Linked DNA regions of Homo sapiens: regions 2 and 3 are each linked to region 1. Evidence: promoter capture Hi-C in 16 types of primary human blood cells and fetal thymus (Javierre and others, 2016). All regions are on one chromosome and are shown on one strand. Each heading gives the region's core, a stretch centred on a gene start or on the middle of the fragment in contact. The rest is flanking DNA. Distances are from core to core; before and after follow the strand shown.

Region 1 (3,822 bases), core at 530-3,029:
TAATATTAGCTTTTTTTAAACCATCTTTTGTCTGCTATTTGTTTGCTTAGCCCAAGTTACTGCCTGTAGAGACTCAGAGTCCTTTTCCTTTGTCACATCTCTAAAAATTTCCTAGTCTTTGTTGAAGATGCTATACAAGCTGGAATTCAAAGACGCTTCTTTGAGAACTACTCATTCTCTGGGTGTTCCTCATATATAAATGAAATATATTAATAAACATCTGTTTTTCTCTTGTTAATCTGTCTCTTGTAAAGGATCCATTCTAAGTACAAAGTTATGGGGGTTATTATTTTCCCATACACAGCCTAAGAGGCCATTTATAGCTAGAACTTGTTTTAGAGAAATTGAAAGAGACTCATGCCTCTACTTTTCTGCTGCTGGAAGGATTTACTTAATGGGAGCAGAGCTGTGATAGAAATAAATCTTAAGCAGTTGGTTTAAATACATTGAAGAATGAAGTTTGAGCAACTAAATGTAGAATGCCTAATTACAAGTGAGTTATCACTTTTGATATGAAGAAATGAGTGATCATGGGTGGACTAAAAACTGTCACTTGATATGCTATGATCTGGATGAAGGATTTAAAACTGACAGCCTAACCACCTAATTTAATCTCACTTGTTTAATAGTATATCTCAAAATTGTAAAGACTTTCAATGGGGCATAGGCATTCTGATTGTACCAAACATATCACCCTTGACAGTTGGCCTGATTAACGATTATGTGCCTGACTCTTCAAAGCTAGAATCTTGCCTGTTTTAACATTTTTGCTGCAGTAAGGATGATGTGAACTTTTACCCCAAATTCTAATATTTGCATTTCCTCTTATAGTAGTTCATGCAAGATGAAATTATCCAGGTGAAAGAGCTTTTAAGTGAACCAATACATTAGTGATTTAAATGATATTTTGTGTGTAGACAGTTAACTGATACCCATTGTGGTTTCCTAAAATGAACTTAAAACTCTTACTGTTCTTACTCTGGACACCATGGCAAATTTAAGGGAAGTAAAGATAATTTAGGGCATGTAAAGATGTACCTGTACTTTCATTATAATTTTCTGTTTTTCTTAAAAATTAGATATACTAGGGCTGGGCACAGTGGCTCACACCTGTAATCCCAGCACTTTGGGAGGCCGAGGCGGGCAGATCACAAGGTCAGGAGATCGAGACCATCCTGGCTAACACAGTGAAACCCCATCTCTACTAAAAATACAAAAAATTAGCCGGGCATGGTGGCGGGCGCCTGCAGTCCCAGCTGCTTGGGAGGCTGAGGCAGGAGAATGGCGTGAACCTGGGAGGCGGAGCTTGCAGTGAGCCAAGATCACACCACTGCACTCCAGCCTAGGCGACAGAGTGAGACTCCACCAAAAAAAAAAAATTAGATGTACCAATTTAACTTTAGTAATGTTTATATTTTGTAGTGCATTTAGATTTACATTTAATTAGATAGCAAGTGTTATATATATAAATACTTAATTGTAGTCACATATATACTTTTGAGAAATGTATTGTCACTGAATTAACTGCTTTATTTACACTCCTTAAATATATTTTATACCCATAAAATACCAACTTATGGAAAAATTTTAAAATAAGTAAATGAACACAGCTTTCCTGAGCACTGGGGAGAAAAGTATCATGGAAATATTAGTACCAAGGCTATTTTTGTTTTTCTTAAGAATTGTGATGTACATAATAAATGGTTCAATGTGTTAAGAATTCTAGCCGTTGCCAGGCAACAAGGGCTCTGCTTTATTCTCCTTATGTCATGTTCCTTCATTGCCCTATTCTTCCTTTGGTGGAGGAAAATATTTGCCTTAAAAAGAAAAACAAAATTATCTGCCAACATTTAGAAAGCTGTGTCAATTTTATACTAGTTTAACACAGATCTTTAGTTATTGGCAATAGAGTTTATATAGTTAAATATAAAGGAATTATCAGAAATACTTTATAGTTATCAAAAATTCTAAAGAAAAAGGCCATGGATGTAGAAATTCAGGACACACCTGGAAAGATAAGTATCTCTAAAAGGTCCATCCTTTCAGGAACTGTTGAGAATATAGATTACCCACACTATTGTGATCTCTTAAGAAAAATGAACATGCCTTTTGTGAAAGGTCTTGAGAACAGACATAACTATGGCAGGTTTGAAAAGAAATGCAACCCTGCTTTTCTTAAATTTCACCCTTATCCCCCTTCAGTTTTGCCAGACTATCATTTACATGATCCTTATCCCCCACCATATGGGCCACATTATCCATTATTTCCACTTCGGGATGATGTGACCTTAGGTGATTCCTGTTCAGGGTTTATGAGTCCTGGTGGTGATGCTGATTTAAATCCTGGCATTGGCAGAACCATACCAACCCTAGTGGATTTTAGTGATGTGAAACCTCAACATCGAGTTCCCAGACCAGACACAGGATTTCAAACAACAATAAAAAGGCAAAAAATTCTATCAGAAGAACTGCAACAGAACAGGAGATGGAATTCCAGGGAAGTACCAGACATTTCTATCAGAGCAAGACTTGGAGGTAAATGAAGTGACATGAACTTTCTATTTTTTAAATGCTCAAGGGAAGAGAGTATGGACATAAGATTCAATATTTAGGCAGTTAAATTAACAAAATTACAATGATCTGAAAAAGGTTTTATTTTTAAATTACAGATTATAAGAAACAAAGGAATGATAAACCTTATAAACTTATTTGTAAAAGAAAATTTATTCTTTAAGAAAAGAACATTCATTAGTGATTAACACAAAGTATATAACATTATTTATTCTAGATATATGGATAAGCTTGTTTTACCACAGGGGAATTTATGTATCACTTTGATAATTGTATAGAAATCCTCCTTATCTGTCTCTCTCCTTTGAAAGAATGAATTCACTGATATTATGAAAGAGTTAGTTTTAAGGATTGAAATAAAATGGGAAAAATTTAAGTACTTGAACGTACATTTTTTGGCTCCAATAAGAACAGAAGCTGAAATGAAGCAAACTCTGCATAAATAGCTCCACAGCCATGGAGGCAGGTTTGATGACCTCTTACTGACATCTGCACCATGTGGTTTCTCTGTAAGAACTCCTGTAAATGGAGTTCCTCTAAATGATGAGAAACACCTCCAAAGGAAAGCCACAGGTACTATTTTCTGTATAAAAGCTGTCTGGCAGGCAGGAATGTAAAAAGATCAACATTTTTAGCATCGGAAAAGGAAAGGGCCAAATGCTATAGGAAGAATACTTTTAAACATTATTCTAAGAAATTATAGGTTGAAGAAATGGCTTAGCAAAGCTAACATAGGGCTAAAATGGTGTTAACAGACTTTGTACCACCAAGTCAGAACCAAGTATAGAGCTCATCTGTCCCATGTATTTCACTGCCTGAATCAGTGAAACAGAGGAGTTTAGAGAACAGGCTTTAGACTCAGACTGTCTGGCCTTGAGCTCTGGCAAAAACTCAGTTGCTGTACGACCCAGGGCTAGTTACTATTCTCTTTATGCCTGTGTATCCTTACTTGTAAAACTCACCTAAGAGTAAAACTTCATAAGATAATAAGTAAGGGTCATTTTATGTTAAAAAAAAAAAAAAACTCACCTAAGAGTGAAACTTCGTAAGATAATAAGTAAGGGCCATTTTATGTAAAAATACCTAAAATAAAGAATAAATGTCAGATTGTAAGAAGTCCAAAATTTTCAGTTTCTTCATACATAAATTAGGAATAATCTTACTTCTTTTATACATTTGTAAGAATCAAATGAATTAACACTTGTAAAGTGCTTAGCAGAATCCCTGAAACCTGATAAAACATTTCATTAA
Region 2 (3,822 bases), core at 921-3,420, 1.2 Mb after region 1:
ATGCAAAATTCCTCAAAAAAATAGAATCTAGCAATATATAAAAAGAATAGGCTGGGCACGGTGGCTCATGCCTGTAATCCCAGCACTTTGGGAGGCCAAGGTGGGCGGATCACAAAGTCAGGAGATCGAGACCATCCTGGCTAACAGAGTGAAACCTCGTCTCTACCAAAAATACAAAAAAAAAAAAAAAAAAAAAAAGCACTAGGCATGGTGGCGGGTGCCTGTAGTCCCAGCTACTCGGGAGGCTGAGGCAGGAGAATGGTGTGAACCTGGGAGGCAGAGCTTGCAGTGAGCAGAGATTGCGCCACTGCACTCCAGCCTGGGCAACAGAGCAAGACTCCGTCTCAAAAAAAAAAGAAAAAAGAATAATACACTACAATCAAGGAGGTTTAATCTCAGGAATGCAAGGCTGGTTCAATATTTGAAAATCAGTTCATGTAATTCACCATACTGACAGTTTAAAGAAGAAAAATCACATGCGTGTATCAATCAAAGCAAAGACAAGCATTTGATATAATTCAGTATCAACAAGTCTCAGTAAATTAGAAATAAAAAAAAAAAACTTCCTAAGCCTATTAAACTATAGCTATAAGGCCAGGCATGGTGGCTCATGCCTGTAATCCCAGCACTTTGGGAGGCCGAGGCAGGTGGATCATGAGGTCAGGAGTTCGAGACCAGCCTGGCCAACATAGTGAAACCCCATCACTACTAAAAATACAAAAATTAGCTGGGCATGGTGGCATGCATCTGTACTCCCAGCTACTCAGGAGGCTGAGGCAGGAGAATCACTTGAACCCAGGAGGCAGAGGTTGTGGTGAGCCAAGATCGTACCACTGCACTCCAGCCTGGGCAACAAAGCAAGACTCCGTCTCAAAAAAAAAAAAAGGTATAAAAAAACCTACCTCCAATATCAAGCTTCACAAAGAAAGACTGAATGTTTTCCCCTAAGATCAGGAACAAGGTAAGAGTGTGTATTCTCACTACTTCCATCCAACTTTTTTTTTTTTTTTTGAGACAGAGTCTTGGTCTGTCACCCAGGCTAGAGTGCAGTGGCACAATCTTGGCTCACTGCAACCTCTACCTCCTGGTTTTAAGCAAATCTCTGCCTCAGACTCCTAAGTAGCTGGGAAAACAGGAGCGTGCCAGCACACCTGGCTAATTTTTGTATTTTTAGTACAGACAGGGTTTCAACATCTTGGCCAGGCTGGTCTTGAACTCCTGACCTCGTGATCCACCCGCCTCAGCCTCCTAAAGTGCTGGGATTACAGGCATAAGCCACCGTGCCCAGCTATTCAACTTCTTACTGGAAATCTACACTGTACAATAAGAAGAGAAAAACAAATAAAAGGCATCAAATTTGGACAGAGAGAAATAAACCACACCTTTTTTCTAGACATACATAGCAAATCCCAAGGAATCTGCAAAGAAAAAAAAAAAAAGCAAAAATCCTCACAGAATTGATAGAGTTTAAAGCAAGCTCATGGAATACAAAGTCAACACACAAAAATCAAGTATATTTCTATACTAACAATCCATAATTAGGAATTAAAATTTTAAAATGCCATTTACAAACATCTACCAAAAAAGTAAAGTATTTAGGTATAAGTCTAGTTGACATGGGTAAGATTGTATGCTGAGAACTACAAAACACTGGTTAATGAAATCAAAGAAAACCTAGAAAAATGGAGAGACATATATTCATTGGTCAGACGACTCAAATTGATTTACAGATTTAACAAAATTTCAAATTCTCAGCATGGCTGTTTTTGTAGACATAGACAAACTGATCTGAAAATTTATATGGAAAGGCAAAGAAATGAGAAGAGCCAAACTAATTTTGAAAAATAAGAATGTTGGAGGAATCACATTACATAGCCTTAAGACTTACTATAAAGCTACAGTATTCAAGATAGTGTGATATTGGTGAAGCAACAGTTATAAATCAATTAAACAAGACTGACAATCAAGAAATAGATCCACATAAATATATTCAAGTGATTTTTTATGAAGGTGTAAAGGCAATTAAATAGACGAAAGACAGTCTTTTCAACAAATGGTATTATAACAATTGGATACCCTATGCCAAAGAAAAATGAGAAGTAGCAGAAGAACTTCGACCTAAGTCACATGCCTTATACAACAATTAACTCAAAATGGACCACTGATCTAAATGGAAAAGTAAAGGTATAAAACCTTCAGAAGAAACATCCAAGAAAATATTCATGGCCTGGGTTAGGCAAGAGTTCCTAGATATGGTGCCTAAATCATGTCTAGAGCATAAAGTTTAAAAAAAAAAAAAAGCTGTACTTCTTCATAATTAAAATTTTCTACTCTTCCAAAGACACTGCTAAAGAATAAAAACACAAGATACTGACTGAAAAAAAAAAATCTGCAAATCACATATGACCTAGGAGCTGTATCCACATTATATAAAGAAACTTCAAGTAACTAAAAAAAAAAAAGCAAAAAAAAATCTAATTTTAAAATGGCAAAGGACATGAACAGATACTTCTTAAAATAAAATATCCAAACAGCCAAGAAACATATGAAAAAACTGTTCATCATCATTAATCATCAGAGAAATGCAAATCAAAACCACAATGAGATGCCATCTCACACTAGTCAGGACGGTGATTATCAAAAAGTCAAAAAATAACAGATGTTGGTGAGACTGTAGAGAAAGGGGAATACATACACTGTTGATGGGAATGCAAATTAGTTCAGCCACTGTGGAAAGTAGTTTAGAGATTTCTCAAAGAACTTAAGCATAACTACCATTCAATGAAGCAATCCCATTACTGGATATATATCCAAAGGAAAAGAAACCATTGTGCCAAAAAGACACATGCCACTCATATGTTCACTGCAACACTATTCACAATAGGAAAGACATGGAATCAACCTAAGTGCCCATCAATGGTGGACTGGATTAAAAAAATATGGTACATATACACCATCGAATACTACACAGCCATAAAAAAGAATTAAATCATGTCCTTTGCAGCAACATGGATGCAGCTGGATGCCACTATCCTAAGTGAATTAATGCAGGAACAGAAAACCAAATACTGCATGTTGTTACTTACAAGCGGGAGCTAAACATTGAGTACACATGGACACAAAGATGGGAACAACAGACACTGGCGATGTTGGAGGTGGGGAGGAAAGGAGAGGAGCATGGGTACCACACTCACTACCTGGATAATAGGATCAGCCATTCCCCAAACCTCAGCATCCCGCAATATACCCATGTAACAAAACTGCATATGAACCCTCTTATTCCAAAATAAAAGTTGAAAAATCAAAAAATAAAAACAATCCCACAGAATAAGAAAACAAACAACCCTTTGAAAAACAGGCAAAAGACTTAAAAGACAGGCAAAAGATTTCCCCCAAAAAGACATATGGATGGTAAATAAACACATAAAGCTTCGCCATCGTTAGCCTTTAGGTAAATGCAAGTTAAAACCATGATGTAATACTAATATATAAGAATAGCTAAAATGAAACAATCTTAAAAATATCAAGTGCTGGTGAGGATACAAAGCAATTGGAGCTCTCATGCACTGCTGGTGGGAATGCAAAATGGTACAGACACTCTGGGAAACCATTTGGCAATTTCCTAAAATGTTAAACACTTTATGCATATAGTTATGACCCAGCACTCCCACTCCTGGGTATTTACCCTAAAGAAATGAAACTGTAGGTTCACACAAACACCTGTACATGAATGTTTATAGCAGCTCTATTCACACTCACAAAACACTGGAGAAAACCCAGATGTCCTGCAATGGGTGGATGGGTAAACAAACAGTGGTGGAC
Region 3 (3,822 bases), core at 575-3,074, 1.0 Mb after region 1:
CATAGACACACACACACACACACACACACACACACACACACACACCCCCTGCCCCATGAAGTTTACTGAAAGAACTGGTTCCACTTCAACTTCCTTTTCCTTAGTCTCGGTCACCCCACCTTCCTTGCCACTGGCCTCCTGCCTAGTGTGGCACCTGTGTGAATGGCCCAGTGTTCTGATGGTCACATCCAAAGGTCCTGTGAGTTCCCACCAGGCAGCCTCTTCCCTCCTTGCACTATGCGAGTTTCTGCACACTCTCGGGCTGCTCCCCATCCTGGGCATGGTGCTCCGCAGGGCTGCCTCTTCTCTTCATCTCTGGTTTTCATCCATTCTTATTTCCCCAACTACCACCTACTGGTGGTCATTTTCAAACCACCTGTGTGAATGCACCACCCTGTGAGCTCCAGACAACTGCCAGTGCGGTTCCTGTAGACATTTCAGCTCCAACTGGTTCTGCATCATCATCTGCATCTGCGGACCCTTCTGGATAATCTTTAAAGGTTGGATTCTTTGCCACTTCCATCTCGCTCGCCACCTTCACTGCACTGCTCCTGAAGCACCTCAGTTCTTGCTGTGACAGTCCTAAAATCCCATCTCCCTCCTTGCCCCCCACCCCTGGCTACCCCTGCTTTTATTCAGGCCCTTTGCATTTCCTGCCTGAGTTATCTTAAATGCTTCTTCCCTCTCTGTCGTTCTGTCTCTCAGAGTCAGTTACCACTGTGCTACCAGGCTCGATCACTCATTTATTTCTCAAAAATTTTACTAAAAAAACTGACTACATGCCAGGCACTGTTCTCCACAAAGGAAGGGGAGCCTCAAAAAAGACAGCAAACTCCTTCCCTGCACTCACAGAATGTATGTCTCGTGAGGGGAAGACAGAAAGAAACCACTGCATCATGTTAGTAGTGCCACCTTCCACAGAAACGAAAGGCAGCCACATGTTTCCGTGGCTGAGGATGGAGCGCTGAGGCAGTGAAAGAAACAGGCCACCTGTGCAAAGGTACGAGGAAGAATGACACAGGCGAGAGCAAGGGGATGGAAACTGCTTGGCCTCTTCTTTTTTCTTTAAAAAAATTGATACATAATAATTGTACATATTTATGGGGTACATGTGGTATTTTGATACAAGCTTACAATGTGTAATAATCAAACCAGGGTAATTGGGATATCTTTAACCTCAAACATTTAGCATTTCTTTGTATTGTAAACATTTAAAATCTTTTCTATTTCAAACTATACAATAGTTATTGTTAACAATAGTCATCCGACTATGCTACCAAACACTAGAACTTATTCCTTCGACCTAATTGAACTTTTATATCCATTAAGCATTCCCTCTTCCTCCCTCTCCCCTCCACCCTGCGCAGCCTCTGGTAACCACCAATCTACTCTCTACCTTCATGAGATCCACTTTTTTAGCTCCCACGTAAGAGTGAGAACCTGCATTATTTCTCCTTCTGTGCCTGGTTTATTTCACTTAATATAATGGCCTCCAGTTCCATCCATGTCGCTGTAAATGACAGGATTTCATTTTTTCCTTTATAGCAGAATAGTACTCTATTGTGTATATATACCACATCTTCTCTAACCATTCATCCGCTGACGGACACTTAGGTTGATTCCATATCTTTATTTTATTTTTCAATAAGTTATCGGGGTACAGGTGGTATTTGGTTACATAAGTTCTTCAGTTGTGATCTGTGAGGTTTTGGTACACCCATCACCCAAGCGGTATATACTGCACCATATTTGTTGTCTTTTATCCCTTAACCAACCTTCCACTCTTGCCCACAAGTCCCCAAAGTCCACTGTATCATTCTTATGCCTTTGTGTCCTCATAGCTTAGCTCCCACATATCAGTGAGAACATACGATGTTTGGTTTTCCATTCCTGAGTTACTTCACTTACAATCATAGTCTCCAATCTCATCCAGGTCACTGCAAATGCTGTTAATTTATTCCTTTTTATGACTGCATAGTATTCCATCATATGTATATAGCACAGTTTCTTTATCCACTCATTGATCGATGGGCATTTGGGTTGGTTCCACGATTTTGCAATTGTGAATTGTGCTGCTATAAACATGCGTGTGCAAGTATCTTTTTCGAATAATGACTTCTTTTCCTCTGGGTAGATGCCCAGTAGTGGGATTGCTGGATCAAATGGTAGTTCTACTTTTAGTTCTTTAAGGTGATACCATATCTTGACTACTGTGAATAATGCTGCAATAAACATGGGGGTGCAGACATCTCTTCAACATACTAATTTCATTTCTTTTGGATAAATACCTAGTGGTGGGATTGCTGCATCATTTAGGTTTTTGAGGAACCCCCATACTATTTTTCATAATGGCTATACTAACTTACATTCCCACCAAGAGTGCATAAGCATCCCCTTTCTCCATATCCTTGCCAGCATTTGCTTTTTCTCTCTTTGATAACAAGCCCTTCTAACTTGGCCTTTTACATACTACAAGAGGAACAGATGGGAGGCCAGTATGGCATTATTGGCATTGGAAAGAAGCTTGGTTTGTATTCACTGTCACTAGCTGCATAATTGTAAGCAGGATCCTACTCAAATGGTGTGTGCAGTGTGGCATCCTGCTCTTCCAGTGGCCCTGATTCTCCCCGCCGGCCCCACCTCAGCCTCAGCACGGAGTGTCCTCTCTCGCTGAACTGTCCTGTCCTCACGACCCATCCATCCTTCAAGGCCCATCTCAATACTACATGTCACAGAAAAGAAACAGCTGCCTCTCCCCCGTGCCTGGGCCCCTGCATGCTCCTTGACTTCATGGTAACATCTGTGTATCTTCTTAGACGGGGCCTCCTCAATACCAGGAGGAGCTGTATCCATCTGTGCTGCTCAGCACTGTGCAGTGCCAGCCAGGGCATGTGATGGGCCCCAGCAAGTGTTCACAACTAGGAGATTAAATGAGTGCATTTCTGAATGGCAAGACTGGGCAGAAAGGGCCTGTGTACATAATGCGATTTATTTATTTTACTCTCTTAACACTTACTTCACAGGGACATATGGTAAAGTGTGTTCCTAGGAAGAGGTGAAGATTAGGTAATATCCTCATCAATATCATCAAAGGAATCCAGTTCACTTGCATGGCACGGGGACCACTAAGAACAAGTCCAGGCAATTTTCAGGTGGATGTCTATTTCTATTTTTACTAAAGACTCCCACACACATAACAGTCAACTGTACAAGGCTTGGAAACAATTTAATGGTTGCAAAAGCATAAGAGAGGAGAAACTAGAATGCCATGAAGTGGGATTACAAAGTAGATTCTGTACATAGAGTAAGTATCTTTGCTATACATCAGCATTTCTATTCCAATTCATCACTGATGGAAATTGTATTGCTCTCCTCAGTGTCCTGTGGATTATTTTTATTTTTTGCCCTAAAGAAACATTGGAAGCAAAGGACCACAGAGAACTTCTAAGATATGGACCATTTAAAAATATATAGTTTATGATTAATATGTAACTTAAAAACTACTTATTAACACAATGTTACCTCCAGAAGCAAGCAGTGCTTCATGATCAATGAGCACTGTTTCCTTTCTAAGCTCCCATTCATGTTGGGGTGTCCCTGCAGATGCATAGGTTACAATATTCACTTCTGCACACAGATCTTTCAGGGAGTTTCTACAGATCTCTTTCCTGAGCACCAGTATTTGACTAATAGCTGAAATCCTCCCCTCATTTAGGCCTTGCATGGGGTCGGCTGTCCTTTGCACCTTTGGGTCTCATCAGAAGTAAAACTAGTCTGGCCTTGCTTTGCAGTCCACAGAGGAGGGGCCCTTGGGGTCCTTGC

Evidence for each region. Contacts are between HindIII fragments. The CHiCAGO score rates a contact against its expected background, and 5 or more counts as called.
Region 2: a fragment that was not itself captured here is called in contact with the fragment with the promoter of SPMIP7 in region 1 in 1 of 17 cell types (endothelial precursors); the score reaches 7.4 in endothelial precursors.
Region 3: a fragment that was not itself captured here is called in contact with the fragment with the promoter of SPMIP7 in region 1 in 4 of 17 cell types (naive CD4 T cells, fetal thymus, activated CD4 T cells and 1 more); the score reaches 6.7 in naive CD4 T cells.

The regions. Positions count from the first base shown.
Region 1 is chr7:50,094,104-50,097,925 of GRCh38, forward strand. It overlaps SPMIP7 (sperm microtubule inner protein 7), which reads left to right and starts at 1,780. Exons shown (of 9, transcript NM_001161834.3): 1 at 1,780-2,535. The coding sequence starts at 1,983. It overlaps LOC124901630 (a long non-coding RNA gene), which reads left to right. Exons shown (of 2, transcript XR_007060321.1): 2 at 1-238. The HindIII fragment of the contact is 3,144 bases long and covers 1-2,799 here.
Region 2 is chr7:51,283,955-51,287,776 of GRCh38, forward strand. All of the region lies in intron 1 of COBL (cordon-bleu WH2 repeat protein), which reads right to left. Among named protein-coding and RNA genes, the nearest start is that of COBL, 31 kb to the right of the region's middle. The HindIII fragment of the contact is 2,514 bases long and covers 914-3,427 here.
Region 3 is chr7:51,108,913-51,112,734 of GRCh38, forward strand. The region is part of intron 6 of COBL (cordon-bleu WH2 repeat protein); the gene reads right to left. Among named protein-coding and RNA genes, the nearest start is that of COBL, 210 kb to the right of the region's middle. RefSeq lists an enhancer at 2,292-2,793. The HindIII fragment of the contact is 1,394 bases long and covers 1,128-2,521 here.